3 separate regions of the Homo sapiens genome follow, and all the other regions are linked to region 2. Evidence: promoter capture Hi-C in human tissues and cell types (Jung and others, 2019). All regions are on one chromosome and are shown on one strand. The core of a region is centred on a gene start or on the middle of the fragment in contact, and the rest is flanking DNA. Distances in the headings are between cores, read along the strand shown.

What was found. Contacts are between HindIII fragments. The study calls those that stand out against the background at their distance.
Region 1: a contact is called between a fragment that was not itself captured here and the fragment with the promoter of RBM4B in region 2, in 5 of the 25 tissues and cell types used here (H1 embryonic stem cells, IMR-90 fibroblasts, mesenchymal stem cells and 2 more).
Region 3: a contact is called between a fragment that was not itself captured here and the fragment with the promoter of RBM4B in region 2, in 3 of the 25 tissues and cell types used here (bladder, liver and mesenchymal stem cells).

The regions. Positions count from the first base shown.
Region 1 is chr11:66,753,495-66,756,257 of GRCh38, reverse strand. The region is part of intron 1 of TOP6BL (TOP6B like initiator of meiotic double strand breaks); the gene reads right to left. Among named protein-coding and RNA genes, the nearest start is that of TOP6BL, 10 kb to the right of the region's middle. The HindIII fragment of the contact is 4,704 bases long and covers 1-2,763 here.
Region 2 is chr11:66,676,631-66,679,492 of GRCh38, reverse strand. It overlaps RBM4B (RNA binding motif protein 4B), which reads left to right and starts at 1,606. Exons shown (of 4, transcript NM_031492.4): 1 at 1,606-1,729; 2 at 2,402-2,825. The coding sequence starts at 2,414. RefSeq lists silencers at 1,404-1,683, 1,884-1,993. The HindIII fragment of the contact is 6,531 bases long and covers 1-2,862 here.
Region 3 is chr11:66,771,143-66,774,024 of GRCh38, reverse strand. The region is part of intron 2 of TOP6BL (TOP6B like initiator of meiotic double strand breaks); the gene reads right to left. It also overlaps the pseudogene FTLP6. Among named protein-coding and RNA genes, the nearest start is that of TOP6BL, 28 kb to the right of the region's middle. The HindIII fragment of the contact is 4,546 bases long and covers 1-2,882 here.

The DNA of each region.
Region 1 (2,763 bases), core at 50-2,549, 77 kb before region 2:
GAACAGACCTATAGTTTAAAAACTTATTTTAACTAACATTTCCCAAATTTAAATGACTACATAACTCCTTTCTTATAACTCATATAAATATTCTGTGGCATACATTTTGGGAAACATCATGAAAATCATATTTGTTAAAGCCTTCAATAATTACTGATGGAAAAAACTAATTATCTCTTGGCTTCTGATAGATGAATCATCTCAGATATCAAATTTGCTAGTCTGTTGTGGGTTGAACTATGTCCCCCAAAAGATAGTTTTAAGTACTAGCCCCAGTGTATATGACCTTATTTGGAAATAGATGCCAGCAAGTTAAGACAAGGTCATACTGGATTAGGGTGTTCCTGAGTCCATTGACTGGTGTACTTATAAGAAGGCCATGTGAAGAAAGAGAGAAATACAGAGGAGAATGCCATGTGAAGGCAGGGAGTGATACACCTACAATCTAAGAAATACCAAGGATTGTCAGCAATCACCAGAAGCTAGGAGAGAGGCATGGAACAGATTTCTGAGTCTCCAGAGCAAACCAACCATACCAAGACCTTGATTTTGGACTTCTAGCCTCCAGAACTGTGAGAAAATAAATATATTTTGTTTCAAGCCATCCAGTTTGTGGTACTTTGTTACAGCAGCCCTAGAGAGCAGAGATTTCAAACCAAATTTAAAAGATACCACTGCACACTTCCAGGTAAAGACAGCCGATTGAACACACACGTTTATTTTCATTCCCTCCTGAAACCTCAATAAAATAATAGAAAAGAGATTTATAAGGGCACAAACCCACAAGGATGGAAAACAAGAGACAAACATGATTGTAATAAAAATCTAGACACTACAGGCTAGGCACAGTGGCTCATGCCTGTAATCCCAGCACTTTGGGAGACCAAGGCAGGTGGATCACCTGAGGTTAGGAGTTCGACACCAGCCTGGCCAACATAGTGAAACCCCGTTTCTACTAAAAATACAAAAATTAGCCAGGCATGGTGGCACACACCTGTAGGCCCAGCTACTCAGGAGGCTGAGGCAGGAGAACCTCTTGAACCCAGGAGGCGGAGGTTGAAGTGAGCTGATATCACACCACTGCACCTCCAGCCTGGGCAACAGAGTGAGACTCTATATCAAAAAAAAAAAAAAAATCTAGAAACTACAAAGCAGAACGACTAGTAGGAAAGGATTTAGGAGACCTGAGTAATCTAAGTATAAGGGGACAGGGAAGGCCAAGAAACAACCTGATTTATATAATAAAATTGCAAAACACTCAGGCATGGCAGTATCAGGAACCTCTGAATGTATGGGTGAGGTAGAAGATAAATTAAGGAGAGTCTGTTGAAAAATGAATTTAAATAAATCTTTAGATTCCCTCCTCCACTCAGCATTCAAGGGACTGGCTCCTCCCTAACTTTGGTGTGGATTGGGGAGAAGATACTTGAAAATGGTCAAGGTGTCAATCTTTGGGACGAGAATCAAAATTGTACTAAAAACAAGTGGAGTTAGTGAACAGAACCCCTGAATGCTGAGATACCCAATACCCCCTTTTCTCTCTCATTCCCAGAATCAAGTCTGGCTTTTACCCACTTGGTAAGAGACTGAAAGATCTGGTCATTCCAAGAGCAAAGACCTAAAGATATTGATATTGAAGAGAAGAGAAAGTTCCCCAGTTAAAAGCCCAATTAGATCACCTTTTAGTGATGCTAAAATTTCAAATCAGCTTTATAGTCTCTAACTCTTAAAAATGAGCAACCAGTAATTTTAAGATATTTGAAGAAAGCTTCTAACATGAAAACAGACACCAGACTAAGAAAAGCAATACAAGGGAAACAAGAACGAGGTGGAGAAAAGAAAACTTTAAAAAAATCTTTATATACTCAAAAAGATAATGCCTAGAAAGTAGAAGAGATAAAAATTATGAGAGAAACGATTTTAAAAAGGAAAAAGAACCAGTCTAGGAAGTCTAATATCTAAATAATAGAAGTTGCAGAAAGGGGGGAAAGAAAAGAGAGAATGCAAGGGAAAATCTCCCAGAACCAAAGAACAAGGGTTTCCAGGTTTAAAAGTCTTGCTGAGTGCTGAGCACAATGTTTGAAAACACACCCACACCCAGGTGCATCATTGTGACAATGGAGACCACAGCAGAGACTGCTGGTGCTCGCAAACAAATACCCCATTCTCCTTCTTCCTGAACACATAATCTGACTACGTTTTTCAGTCTTCCTTGCAACTGCAGGGCTGTGGCAATAAGACTAAGTCCTGGTTGGCCAGGCGTGGTGGCTCATGCCTGTAATCCCAGCACTTTGGGAGGCTGAGCTGGGCGTATCACCTGATGTCAGGAGTTCGAGACCAGCCTAGCCAACATGGTGAAACTCTGTCTCTACTAAAAATATAAAAATTAGCTGGGTGTGGTGGCAGACACCTGTAATCCCAGCTACTGAGGAGGCTGAGGCAGGAGAATCACTTGAACCTGGGAGGTGGAGGTTGCAGTGAGCCGAGATCATGCCACTGCATTCCAGCCTGGGCAACAGAATGAGACTCTGTCTTAAAAAACATAAAAACATGGCCGGGCGCGGTGGCTCACGCCTGTAATGCCAGCACTTTGGGAGGCCAAGGCAGGTGGATCACGAGGTCAGGAGATAGAGACCATCCTGGCTAACACGGTGAAAACCCGTCTCTACTAAAAATACAAAAAATTAGCCGGGCGTGGTGGCAGGCACCTATAGTCCCAGCTACTCGGGAGGCTGAGGCAGGAGAATGGCGTGAACCCAGGGG
Region 2 (2,862 bases), core at 357-2,856:
GCCAACACGGTGAAACCCTGTCTCTACTAAAAATACAAAAATTAGCTGGGGGGTAGCGCACGCCTGTAGTCCCAGCTACTCGGGAGGCTGAGGCAGGAAAATGGCTTGAACGCAGGAGGTGGAGGTTGCAGTAAGCCGAGATCGCACCACTGCCCTCCAGCCTGGGCGACACAGTGAGACTCTGTCTTTAAAAAATTAAACAAAAAATAAAAATAAAATAAAATTGGAAGGACAGTGCCTCTTCTGAAATGGCTGAGAAACAAAAAGAACTCAGGTAAAGAACATATCCAAGTAGCTGGGGTGGAAGAGGGCAGCCTGGGGAATGTGTCCCAGATGGTATCAGAGAAGCCATTATGGAGCCACTAAAATGAGGAATGGTGGCTGACAACCTCCCTGGCGGGCTCTACTAGGAGATAAACCCAATCCATCAATCTCCATAAAAGGCTACTCTTTGCTGGAAGGTGACAGTGGGGAATCAGCCTAAACTTCTTTTTTTTTTTTTTTTGAGACCGAGTCTTGCTCTGTCACCCAGGCTGGAGTGCAGTGACGCCATCTCGGCTCACTGCAACCTCCGCCTCCCGGGTTCCAACGATTCTCCTGCCTCAGCCTCCCGAGTAGTTGGGATTACAGGCGCCCGCCACCACGCCGGGCTATTTTTTGTATTTTTAGTAGACACGGGGTTTCACCATGTTGGCCAAGCTGGTGTCGAACTCCTGAACTCGTGATCCGCCCGCCTTGGCCTCCCAAAGTGCTGGGATTATAGGCGTGAGCCGCCGCACCTGGCACGCCTAAGCTTGTTTTTACCGCCAGGAGGTGCCCTTGGACCACAGCTGAATTTTGAATGCTAGACAGTCGGGAAACTCAGTTGCCTAGACTTCCAGCTTGGTGTGTACGAGGAGACCCTGTCCCACCCAGAACTAGGGACCTCGCTGGGCCTCTCCACCAAGTATTCCTCTGGCGTGCTCACCACAGACCAGGACTGTGATGGACACACAATGAGTGAGAGAGAATCAGACCACGGATACTCACGAGCAAACAAAACATGACTAAGCGTAGCCTGGGTAGCAATGCCTCTTAGGCCTGTCCCAGTTCTGCCAGGTTATCTTTCTGCCCCTTGGTTCTCAGTTTCCGTAGCAATAAATAACACCTCTGCAATGACAAACTTTAAAATAATGTTTAAAGCGCTACAAAACAATGACTAGTTTTGCTTAAAATGTGGCGCACCTGTATTTTTGAAATGTTGCCCCAAGCTGCCACAGAAGCCGGCCAGCCCGCTACAAAAGCCCCTTTTTAGGGCCCTCGGGGAGATTCCTCTGTCATTAGCTCCCCGCCCCCCTCAAAGGGCCCAAGAGCAGGACCCATTGTGGTGAGCGACTCCCCAAGGCCTCCGCTTTTCTAGGCAGTGGTTGCGTTCAGAGCCCCTCTGACGCAGCAGTGGCGACCCTTTCCAGGGTGGTGACTGGCTGGCTGGGGCTGGGGGTGGGCTGACCTCCGCGGCGCCGCGCCACCACCAACAGGCCCCGCCCCCGTGCTGCGTGGTCATTTGTATGCAGCCTCGGGATTGGTCACTCGGCTCCCGCGAGGGGAAGGGGAGGGAAGCAGCGCGCACTCGCGCGTGCGTGAGCTGGCGCGCGAGAAAGGGCCCGGTCGCGTCCAGGCTCGAGCGGCCGTCGCCATTTTGTAAGGTTCTCTCTGACGTGGGAGCCGCCGTCGCTGCCGCCACCCGGAGGTGCGAGGGGGTCGTGTGTGTGTGATGTGGGGAGCTCGGGGGCGGGTCGGGCCGGGCCTCCGGCAGACTGCACGGCCCGGATTTGGGTTTCTCATTTTGCAGCGGGAGGTCTGGGAAGACAACGGGAGGAGGCGGGGCCGGGTCTCCGGAAGGAGGCGGGGCAGGGGTCGGGTCGAGTCTTTGTTGGGGCGAAGAAGCTGGAGGGTGGGCCGCTGGGGGCGAGGTGGTTGGTCCCCGGTTTGGGGGAAAGGGGACTTTTTTCTTTTTAGAGTATCTTGAAAGGCGCTAGTGCGCGCAGGAGAGGTACACAGATTTCCCTCCAAAACCTTGTTACCAGGCGCACTGCGATTGATGCCCCTTGCCTTTGCTTGGGCTTTTCTCTTCCCTCATTTTAAGACATGAAGCAGCTAATTCTGGTATTTCATTGCGCTCCACTTCACGGAGATGATAGACTGGGCTATGCATGCTGACCCTCGACCTCCTGTTTGCATGTCACGCATAGCTCGCACTTCTCGAGAACAAACCGCCCTTCTTCTATTGAGGAAGAATAATGAATGTCTGTACGAGGGTCTTGAAGGTGCAAGAACTTTGGAGGATTAGACGAAAATGCTGCAGTGCACCGAAATTTCCCACCACACCCCTGACTTTTGAAGTCTTGTGTTTCTCTCCCAGGCTCTTGTCAGGATGGTGAAGCTGTTCATCGGAAACCTTCCCCGGGAGGCTACAGAGCAGGAGATTCGCTCACTCTTCGAGCAGTATGGGAAGGTGCTGGAATGTGACATCATTAAGAATTACGGCTTTGTGCACATAGAAGACAAGACGGCAGCTGAGGATGCCATACGCAACCTGCACCATTACAAGCTTCATGGGGTGAACATCAACGTGGAAGCCAGCAAGAATAAGAGCAAAGCTTCAACCAAGTTACACGTGGGTAACATCAGCCCCACTTGTACCAACCAAGAGCTTCGAGCCAAGTTTGAGGAGTATGGTCCGGTCATCGAATGTGACATCGTGAAAGATTATGCCTTCGTACACATGGAGCGGGCAGAGGATGCAGTGGAGGCCATCAGGGGCCTTGACAACACAGAGTTTCAAGGTGAACTGCTCTGGGCCTGGGTAGTAGCGCCGAGTGG
Region 3 (2,882 bases), core at 94-2,593, 95 kb before region 2:
GGGCATGGTGGCTCACACCTAGAATCCCAGCACTTTAGGAGGCCAAGGCTGGTGGATCACCTGAGGTCAGGAGTTTGAGACCAGCCTGGCCAACATGGTGTCTCTACTAAAAATACAAAAATTAGCTGGGCTTGGTGGTGGGGGCCTGTAATCCCAGCTACTCGGGAGGCTGAGGCAGGAGAATCGCTTGAACCTGGGAGGCAGAGGTTGCAGTGAGCTGAGATCACTCCACTGCACTCCAGCCTGAGCAACAGAGCGAGACTCTGTCTCAAAAAAAAGAAAAAAGAAATTACATAAAATGTCATTATGACTTTAGCGTAGAACTGTCTCTAATCAATGATTGCAGCTTTCACTTTATAAAACTAGAAACAGAAGAGCAAGTAAGACCCCAAACGAGCAAAAGAAAGAATAAAAGATCAGAGTGTAAATGAATGAAATAGAACAACAGGAAGAACCTGGTTCTAGCCAGACTGATCAAGGAAAATAAAAGAGAAGATATAAATAACCAACACCAGGGAGTAAGAAAGAGGATATTGCTAGAGATTCTACAAACATTAGAAAGATAATAAGGAAAATTATGAACAATTTTATGTCAATAACCCAATAACTTAGATAAAATGGACAAATTCCTTGACACAAATTACCCATGCTCACTCAGGAAAAAAAAAAAAGGCCAGGTGCAGTGGTACGTGCCTATAATCCCAGCACTTTAGGAGGCTGAGGCAAGAGGATCGCTTGAGCCCAGGAGTTCCAGACCAGCCTGGGCAACACAGTGAGACCCTGTCTCTACAAAAAATACAAACCAGGTGTGGTGGTGCAGGCCTATAGTCCTGAATCTGAGGCAAGAGGATCGCTTGAGCCAGGGAGGTCAAAGCTGCAATGAGCTGAGATCGCCCCACCATACTCCAGCCTGGGCGACAGAGACCATGTCTCAAAGAGAGAGAGAGAGAGAGACTGTATAATTATTAAAGAAATTGAATTTGTAGTTAAAATATTTCCTAGGAAGGAAAAAATCAGGCCCAGATGGCTTCCTTGATGATTTGCACCAAATATTTAAGGAAGAAATTGTACCAAATATTTAAGGAAGAAATAATATCTTCTACAAACTCTTCTAGGCAATTGAAGAACAGAGAATATGTCCAAAGTCATTCTATGAGGCCAGTATTACTTGTACCAAAAAAAGACAAAGACATTACAAGAAAAGAAAATTACACATATCCTTTGTGAACATAGATGCAAAAATTCTTAATAAAATTATGGCAAATCAAATCTAACAATACAGGCTGGAGTGCAGTGGCATGATCTCAGCTCACTGCAACCTCCACCTTCCAGGTTCAGCTGATTCTGCTGCCTTAGCCTTTGGAGTAGCTGGGAAGAAAGGCACGCACCACCACACCCAGCTAATTTTTGTATTTTTTAGTAGAGACGGGGTTTCGCCATGTTGGCGAGGCTGGTCTCGAATTCCTGACTTCAGATGATCTGCCCGCCTCAGCCTCCCAAAGTGCTGAGATTACAGGCATGAGCCACGGTGCCCGGCCAAGATTTTTATTTTTTGAGATAGGGTCTTGCTCTGTCTCCGAGGCTGGAGTGCAGTGGCAAAATTATAGCTCACTGCACCCTACAACTCCTGGTTTCAATCACTCCTTCTGCTTCAGCCTCCTGAGTAGCTAGGACTATAGGCATGCAGCACCATGCCCAATTAACTTTTAGAAATGTTTTGTAGATATGGGGCCTTGCTATGTTTCCCAGGCTAGTTTAGCAAGCTTGAAAAATATATAAACATCAATTGTATTTCAAATACTAGCAAGAAACAGTTGGAAAATGAAATTCTTAAAAAAATACCACTTACTGGCCGGGCCACATTTACAGTTAACTCTTCCACTTAAGTACTGAACCCCTCAAAGTCATCCATAAGGGTTGGAATCAATTTCTTCCAAACTCCTGTTAACGTTGATGTTTTGACCTCCTCCTATGAATGACGAATGCTCTTAATGGCATCTAGAATGGTGACTCCTTTCCAGAAGGTTTTTAATTGACTCTACTCACTATCTATGGCAGCTATAGTCTTATAAAATGTATTTCCTAAATAATAAGCCTTAAAAGTTGAAATTACTTCTTGAACCATGAGCTGTTCATGGATGTTCTGGCAGTGCATTTGACAGTCCCACCCATCTGTCTCTTGCTTCAATAGTATTTGGATGGAACAAACCCAGGGACTCCCTCTCTTCCAGCCTCCAACTGCCCTCCACTGTCCTCTCCACTTGCAACCTCCAGGACCATCTTCTCGGCCATCTCCTGCTTCTGAGACCAGCCAACACTGTTTTTGTGGTTAGCTCCTTCTTGCCAACTAGACTCATCAGAATTATTTCATCGAGTTGGAGGCAGCTGTCAATCGCCTGGTCAATTTGTATCTGTAGGCCTCCTACATCTCTCTCATTCTGGGCTTCTATTTTGACCACAATGATGTGGCACTGGAAGGCACTGGCCACTTCTTCCACAAATTGGCTGAGAAGTGTAAGGGTGCAGAGGATCTCTTGAAGTTGCAAAGCCAGCATGGCAGCCACATTCTATTGCAGTAGAGACGGGGTTTCACCATGTTAGCCAGGATGGTCTCAATCTCCTGACCTCATGATCCGCCCACCTTGGCCTTCCAAAGTGCTGGGATTACAGGCGTGAGCCACCACGCCCAGCCTCAAATTTAAATTTCTTAAAAAGAAATTGGAATGGCTGAGGATGGTGGCTCATGCCTGTAATCCCAGCACTTTGGGAGGCCGAGGTGGGAGGATTGCTTGAGCCTAAGAGTTCAAGACCAGCTTGGGCAACATAGCAAGACCTCATCTCTAAAAAAAAAAAAAGAAAAAAAGAAATCCAGAAGAAGTGCC